Regions from separate parts of the Homo sapiens genome. Here region 1 is linked to region 2. Evidence: promoter capture Hi-C in human tissues and cell types (Jung and others, 2019). All regions are on one chromosome and are shown on one strand. Each heading gives the region's core, a stretch centred on a gene start or on the middle of the fragment in contact. The rest is flanking DNA. Distances are from core to core; before and after follow the strand shown. Region 1 overlaps LOC105373854 (a long non-coding RNA gene). Region 2 holds the start of PLEKHM3 (pleckstrin homology domain containing M3).

Evidence for each region. The method cuts DNA at HindIII sites, captures the fragments that hold promoters and counts their contacts. A contact is called where the count stands out against the background at its distance.
Region 1: a contact is called between a fragment that was not itself captured here and the fragment with the promoter of PLEKHM3 in region 2, in 1 of the 25 tissues and cell types used here (aorta).

The regions. Positions count from the first base shown.
Region 1 is chr2:208,075,654-208,079,678 of GRCh38, forward strand. LOC105373854 (a long non-coding RNA gene) reads left to right here. Exons shown (of 4, transcript XR_923815.3): 4 at 1,303-1,545. Among named protein-coding and RNA genes, the nearest start is that of CRYGD, 47 kb to the right of the region's middle. The HindIII fragment of the contact is 3,796 bases long and covers 769-4,025 here.
Region 2 is chr2:208,023,778-208,027,801 of GRCh38, forward strand. It overlaps PLEKHM3 (pleckstrin homology domain containing M3), which reads right to left and starts at 1,750. Exons shown (of 8, transcript NM_001080475.3): 1 at 1,612-1,750. The HindIII fragment of the contact is 4,894 bases long and covers 1-3,061 here.

The sequences.
Region 1 (4,025 bases), core at 1,417-3,916, 53 kb after region 2:
AGAGATCCTCCCACCTCTGCATCCTGAGAAGCTGGGACCAGAGGTCCATGCTGCTGTGCCCAGCAAACATTTTTGAGTGGTATAAATACAAAGCATTAGTAGTATACAGTTGTTCTAGAAGGACTCATTTTTAAATATTTTCTAAAATTATGTATATAAAGAATTTGGTGTAATCCCAGCACTTTGGGAGGCCAAGGCGGGTGGATCACGAGGTCAGGAAATCGAGACCATCCTGGCTAACACGATGAAACCCCGTCTCTACTAAAAATACAAAAAATTAGCCGGGCGTGGTGGCGGGCGCCTGTCCCAGCTACTCGGGAGGCTGAGGCAGGAGAATGGCGTGAACCCGGGAGGCGGAGCTTGCAGTGAGCCGAGATCGCGCCACTGCACTCCAGCCTGGGCGACAGAGCGAGACTCCATCTTAAAAAAAAAAAAAAGGAAGAATTTGGTCTTCAGGAAGACCATACTCAGGAATATGTGGTATTTGTTCAGCATTAGCTTCATCGCATAACAAGCCATGAGGGTTTTTCTCTTTTGCCTTTATAACTCTATAGACTCACATAACTATTAAAATACTATCACCTTGCATTATAATTATCTCATTTACCGTTATTACTGTTCTGCCTCCCTCCCTCTAGACTATAAATCTCACGTAGTACTTGGCACATAGAAAGCTCTCAAGAAACACTTGTTGAGTGAAGAAATATGCTATTTGATGTCTTATGTGCCTGTGTCCTTAAGCCATAGCATGCATGGAGGCCCTGAGCCATAGTAGAATTTGAATAAATGTTTGTTGTGTTATGAATCCAATATTTAAACGAGTCCAAAGGATTTAGCACTAGTTTCAATGATGAAATCAGTCAAGTCAACTTTTATTTTTAAACTGGATGTCAATTACTAATCACTTGCTAATCACTAGTTTCTAAACTAGGAAAGAGAGATGCTTTGGTCCAGAGGTTGTTTGAGTGAAGTAAGCATTTAGGTACTTGTACACTCAGTACTTCTAGACTTCCATCAAAAATTCTTCCCCGCTAAAACATTGCACTTTAGGGGTGTTTGAGTCATCCTTGTGTGGCTGAGAAAAAAAGTCCTAAAAAGTGACAAGCTAGAATGGAGGAGGGATGTCACTCTTTCCAAGATCTAACAGAACAAAGAACAGCATGATTATGGGGGGCTCAACTGCTTTGTTTGCCCGTGGTTTGAGTTTGGCCAAGGGTGAATACCATTAAGGGATCTGAGAGTGGGAGAAGAGTGAGGCCAGGATATTTATTCACCTGTTTCCCTATTGCTGTGTCTCCACAGGTTGGCTGCATCCTTCTTCTGAAGGCCACTGCTCTTTTCAGAAGACCTCCCTAGATGGCTAAGCTCTCTGGGTTGCAACAGTTGCTCTTTTTCCTTGAGCCTTAGGTTAGGGAGTTGGGAGGAAGTAATGGCTTCCCCCACTGCTAGCTCCAGGGTGCTACACTTTCTCTTTTCTAGTTTCCCTAATCTGGCTTACACCATTATAGATAGACCCTTTATTAAAATATCCTCAATTTATCCATATTGAGTGTGCCATCTGCTTCTTTTTCGGATGCTGATGCTTCAGAGTGATATGGGAAAGTATCCCAGGCATTTTTGTCTCATTCATCACACCTAGAAAGATAATTTAGGATTTGATGATGAAATAGCATGGTAGAAAATATAGCATACAAAGTTTTTCCTTGGAAGACAATCACTGGACATTCTCAAGAATGGCAAGAGAAGGCATAATAAAAATAGCTGCCAGATGGGGGACAGGACTGACTTGCAGCTCTCATGCTGACTTGCAGCATGAGGAGACTCACATTGTGAACTTTTGCTCCAAGAACTACTGCAAGAACATACCAGGAAAACCAAAAGAATTCACAGACCCTTTGAAAGAAGAGTTTGCCGCTGCAAACTCCAAGACACAGCTGAAAAACCGTGAGTGCCCAGAGTGTGAGAGGGGGAAAGTCTCTTTCCAAACACACATCCTCACTGGGGAGCCTGAAAATCCATATCATGGGAGAAGGATTTAACCTTACCTAGAGCTGAGGCGAATTTAGAGAGCTGAGCAAAATATAAAAGTAGAAGCAGCAGCAGGAAGAGCCCTGTAGGCACTCCCGGTCCCCAGGGAAGCTCAGAGAACCCATTTCTGACTTTATCTCACAGGGGCCCTTGTGGGGAGCGGGCTGCCAGTGGAATTAGGGAAAGCCCACAGGGAGAAGGAAACTTCCAGCTGAACTTTATAATGATTTCAAGCATGAATTTTCCAGAGCAGAATCTGGGGTCGGGGGCAAACAGGAAGTCCAGATAGGAGCACAGAAGCCGCAGCGAGGAGGGGAAGGCCTGAAAGCCCTGCTTGCTTTATTAGGCGCGAGGCTTGTATGGTGGCGGTGGAGGGAGTTCCCAGTCCTGCTCACTGGCAAATAAACTCACCTAGATATAAACTCGGTGCTGTCGAGGAGCACTGGGAGAGTGAGACTGGCCTTTCAGTCTGCGTGGGAGCTGGGTGAGGCCCGTCACTGCCAGTTTTCCGCAACTTCCCTGGCGACCTGTATGACAGCAGAGGCAGCCATAGTCCTACTGGGAACCTACTCCAATGGCCTGAGAACCACACCCCCTCCCCCAAGGTGGCTGCGGCAAGCCCCGCCCAAGGAGAGTCTGAGCTCAGACCCACCTGACTCTACCCCCACCAGATAGATGGTCTTTCTCCACCTGCCCTGGTAGCCAAAAACAAAAGACGTACAACTCATGGAAGTTCTAGGGCCCCGCCCATCACCTGAGAAACCTGAAGGCTCATCCAGGAGACCCTAGGGCAAGCTTGCGTCCCCCCATACTACCGCAGCTGAAGTTGTCTGAAGTTGTCTTGAAAGCGCCACCTCCTAGCTGGAGGCCAACCAACACAAACTGTTACAGCAACTCATCAAAGAATAACCCTGCCCCAAGAAAGGAGAAAACAATGGTTAACTCCACTGCCTGTAACATCCTGGCTAACCAGAGGTCCTAAGTCTGTCCACATGATAGCTTTACTGTCAGTACAACCAGCATTTGAGAAAACCGGCACGCTAAACAAAACTACAACCAAGTACTCTTACAGAGTCCGCTTCACTCCTCTGCTACCTCCACTGGAGCAGGTGCTGGTATCCACAGCTGAGAGATCTGAAGATGGAGCACATCACAGGACTCTTTGCAGACCCTCCTCAGTACCAGCCCAGAGCCCAGTAGCTCCACTGGGTGGCTAGACCCAGAAGAGAAATAACAATCACTGCAGTCTGGTTCTCAGGAAGTCCTATCTCAAGGGGAAAGGGGAGAGCCCCACAGCAAGGGAGCACCCTATGGGACAAAAGAATCTGAACAGCAGCCCTTGAGCCCCAGATCTTCCCTCTGACATAGTCTACCCAAATGAGAAGGAACCAGAAAAACAATTCTGGTAATATGATAAAACAAGGCACTTTAACACCCCCAAAAGATCACACTAGCTCACCAGCAATGGATCCTGTGAAAGGAAAATATCTTGGGCCCCAAAATCACTAGGAAAAACTAGCTGGAAATTGCTTAGGGCAAATCTGCCTTCCATTCTATTCAAAGTTATCCCTCTGCTCATTGAGATAGATGCATATCTGATTGCCTTCTTTGGAAAGGCTAATCAGAAACTCAAAAGAATGCACTGTTTGTGTTTCACCTAACTGTGACCTGGAAGATCCCTCCCTGCTTTGAATCTTCCTGTCTTTGCTTCAAGTTGTCCCGCCTTTCCAGATAGAACCAATGTACTTCTTACATATATTGATTGTTGTCTTCTGTCTCCCTAAAATGGATAAAACCAAGCTGTGCCCCCGACCACCTTGGGCATGTCATCAGAACTCCCTGAGGCAGTGTCATGGTCCGTCCTCAACCTTGGCAAAATAAACTTTCTAAATTAACTGAGAGCTGTCTCAGGTTTTCTAGGTTCACAATCCAAACCAAGAAGAAATCTCTAAATGGCCAGCAAAAAAATTCAGAAGGTCGATTATTAAGCTACTCAG
Region 2 (4,024 bases), core at 500-2,999:
GCATTAAACAACAAATCCCCATTGCCTGCCTCCCTCCAGGCCCTGGTAATCACCATTCCACTTTCAACACTGGCATATTTTTATTTTATATATTTATTAACAAACATGTATATAGCAATTACTATATGCCAGGTACGGTTCTAAGCCTTGAGCTCAGGAGTTCAAGACCAGCCTGGGCAACATGGCGAAACCCTGTCTCTACCAAATGTACAAAAATTAGCCAGGCGTGGTGGCTTGTGCCTATGGTTCCAGCCACAAGGGAGGCTGAGGTGGAAGGATCGCTTGAGTCCAGGAAGTCGAGACTGCAGTGAGCCATGATCACGCCACTGTACTCCAGCCCGAATGACAGAGTAAGACCCTGTCTCAAAATAAAATAAAATAAAATAAAATAAAATAAAATAAAATAACAATAATAAAAACCCTAATGAGGTCAATACTATTATTATTCCCATTCTACAGATTAGGAAACAGAAGCGCTAAGTAAACTGCCCAAGATTACACAACTAGGAAGTGACCAAGCAGGAATTCAAACTGAAGTAGTCTGGCTTTATAGTTTTTGCTATAAACCATGACATTGTAAAAATATTCATTGTAAAGAAAAACTCATCAGGAATTAGTATCATTTCTTCTATGTATATCTATCTATTGTAGGTGCAATTTAACCTAATATTCATCTCCTGTCTAAAAGACTATGTGACCAAGGTTACAAATGTCTACTGATATTTTTAGAGACTAGATATATAGCCCAGCTTTTGTTAAGGCATTTTCTTGAAGTCAGTCAGTCAAAAACTGCCTTGTATTTTAAGTATGCCAATTATAATTTACATGTAGTATTTTATAATAAAATACTTTATAAATACAAATCACAACTCACTACGATTACTTAAAATATAGAGAAAAAAATTCAGCTGTTTCTCTCTGGTCCCTTCCAAGGAAGAAAAAAGAAGAGAGAAATAAACTTCTAAATAAGTTTACAACAGCATGGCTCAATCTCAGTTTAACCTGGTAAATTCAAATTTGTCTTGCTTTGCAAGGTATACATCCAGACCAGTCTCAATTTGTCATCCAAATATATATCTCAGTAGTAATTTATTTTTGTTTAAGGGATGAGTGTGAGATTTTCTTATCTTGATTTTTTAGCTTAATAATTCTTTCCTACAAGACCAAACCATGCTTGTCATCAGTCATGTGGTGTCATTTACTATACATTAAAAACGGACAGAGTCGACAGAAAGAACAATCGTTTTCTGGAAGCCCCAGCCTGATGTAGGTTAAAAGCTCTGCTGGGGTTTGGTTTTATAATCCCCAGGCGGGGATGGCAGGGATACTAATAACGCACTCAACAAGATCACCTACTATTTCAACTACTTTCTCCTCCTATTACATACCTGATTCACAAAAATAAGCAGACAATGCATCATGTAATCTCCCCTCACCCATTAGCCATTGCAGTGTGGTACAATCTCCAGCACGTAATAAAAACCTGAGCATGCAAGAAACAGCAAAATCACTGCTATCCCTGGGAGCTGCTCGGATATTTACAATGCAGTCGTCCCCACCCCATCCCCCAAACTGGCCGGCCAGGCAGCACAGAAGCAGACGGATGCTCACCTGGGCCCCGGCTGCTACTCTCCATTCACCTGCGGGGCCTTCAGTCCGCTCCTGGAGGGGCTTGACTCCCGCAGCCTGCCGCCCGCCTCACGGTGACAGCCCGCCCGGGCGCTGACCATCCCGGCCCGGCTCTGTTTACAAGCGGCTTCTCGCGGTCCCACTCTGAAATGCTTCCGCCGGCGGCCCGGGCAGCCAGAGCCGGACACACAAGGTTCCAGGCCGCGAGGACGAGTCTTTCCTGCCCGAGGGACCCGGCAGCTAGGCAAGGCCTGACCGCACCCGCCAGGCCTCCTTATTTCTTTGCTTTCTTATATACAGTTCCTCTTGTACACATTGTGAAAGCAATGGCGTGTGTCGTGGAGTCTCCTCACTGCTCCACCCAACGCCAAAATGGGTGTTTGCGATTGGAAAATGTCACTTAGAACATGTCAGGATCGGGCTGGTTTTTAGCAGCTCCCTTGTCTAAGGGAATTAATTACTCAAATAAGTTCTTTCCAAAAGTGGGACTATTCTGGAGATTGCTTCTCATTTCCGGTTTTGGGGCTGCAGTGAAAATCCGTTTTCACTGTCCTTTCCTACGCAGGTTGAAAAGGGGTGGTTTTGAGGTGAGGTCTTCACCCCCACTTGCGGATTCCCAGCAAAATAGGGTGTGCGTGTGTGTGCACGCGGGCAGGACTGCCTGGTAAGACCGCCCACATCCCACCTGCAGTGACTGTGGTCGCTTTGCAGGGATATGCTGGTCTGATTGGACAGACCTTCCTTGCAGTTTCCTGTCTGTTTTCCATCATAGCACACTTCTTAGCCATTTTCTCACTTTATAAGTACACACTTATTTATCAGTTTTATTGGTTTTCCCACGCTCACCCATCTCACCTATAAACTCCCTGAGGGCAGGCACTATTTCAGTTTCACTCACCACCATCTAGTAGGCACCTAGCACAGGCCCAATGTATATATATCTGAATAAATGAATGAACAAAGGAATGATAAAAAAAAAAAAAGGTCAAAGGGGTCAGGGATGAAACAGAAATCTAAAACTCTGATTCCTCTTCCCACCTTCCCACCCTCCAGAAGATTAATAAGCAAATCTTTAAGCTTTGAGTTAAGAAAAAATTTCCTTTGGTTGATATTCAAAGTTTAAATAAGCTTTCTTTAAACCCTGCAATTTGAGGTACTTTTTTTTCTGTTTTGCTAGAGACAGGATCTCACTCTGTGCCCCGGCCAGAGTGCAGTCGCACGATCATAGCTCACTGCAGCCCTGAACTCCTGGGTTCAAGGGATCCCCCCAACTCAGCCTCCTGAGTAGCTAGGACTACAGGCACGCATCACCACAACGTGGCTAACTTCTTTTTTCTTTCTTTCTCTTTTTTTTTTTTTTGTAAAGGCAAGGTCTCCCTGTGTTGCCCAGGATGATCCTGAACTCCTGGCCTCAGGCAATCCTTCTTCCTTGCCTTCCAAAGTGCTGGGATTACAGGTGTGAGCCACCTCACCTGGCCAGAGGTACATTTTTTGTTTTGTTTTGTTTTAATTACCAAAAGAGAATATTTGCAGTATTCTCTTTTGCCTCAGGACTTTGTACATGTGATTCCCTCTGATGAGAGTTCTCACTCCTGGCCCATCCTCTTACTTAGGCTGGCTAATTTCTCTTTGCTCTTTAAGAAGCAGGTAACAGGTGCTTGGTCTCTCAAGTCACTTGCTTGGTCTTCTTCCAAGTGTTCTTTTCTTCTTTTCCTTCCCTTCATTACTACTCTAAAGCTTTTTAATAAACTTTCACTCTAAAAAAAAAAAAAAAAAAGGCCGGGTGTGGTAGCTCGTGCCTGTAATCCACGCACTTAGGGAGGCCAAGGCGGGTGGATCGCTGGAGGCCAGCGGTTCGAGACCAGACTGACCAACATGATAAAACCTCATCTCTACTAAAAATACAAAAATTAGCAGAGCATGGCGGTGCACGCCTGTAATCCCAGCACTTTGGGAGGTCGAGGCGGGTGGATTGATTGAGGCCAGCAGTTCGAGACCAGCCTGGGCAACATAGTGAAACCCTGTCTCTACTAAAACGAAAATTAGCCAGGCATGGTGGCACACGACCTGTAATCCCAGCTACTTAGGAGGCTGAGGCACTAGAATCGTTTGGACTCAGGAGACGCAGGTTGCAGTGAGCTGATATTGAGCCAGTGCACTCCAGCCTGTGCAAAAGAGCGAGACGCTGTCTCAAAAAAAAAAAAAAAGCAGATGACATCACACCTCTTCTGGAAACCTTGCCTGATAGGGGAACCTGCTCCTTTTATGCACTCCTAGAGGATCTCATGTGTTCCTTTATAAATGTACCCATTACATTGTGCTACACAGATCAGTCTTCCATTGGATTGGTGGTTCTCAAAATTCACATGGAACAGAATCTTCTAGGATGGTGTTT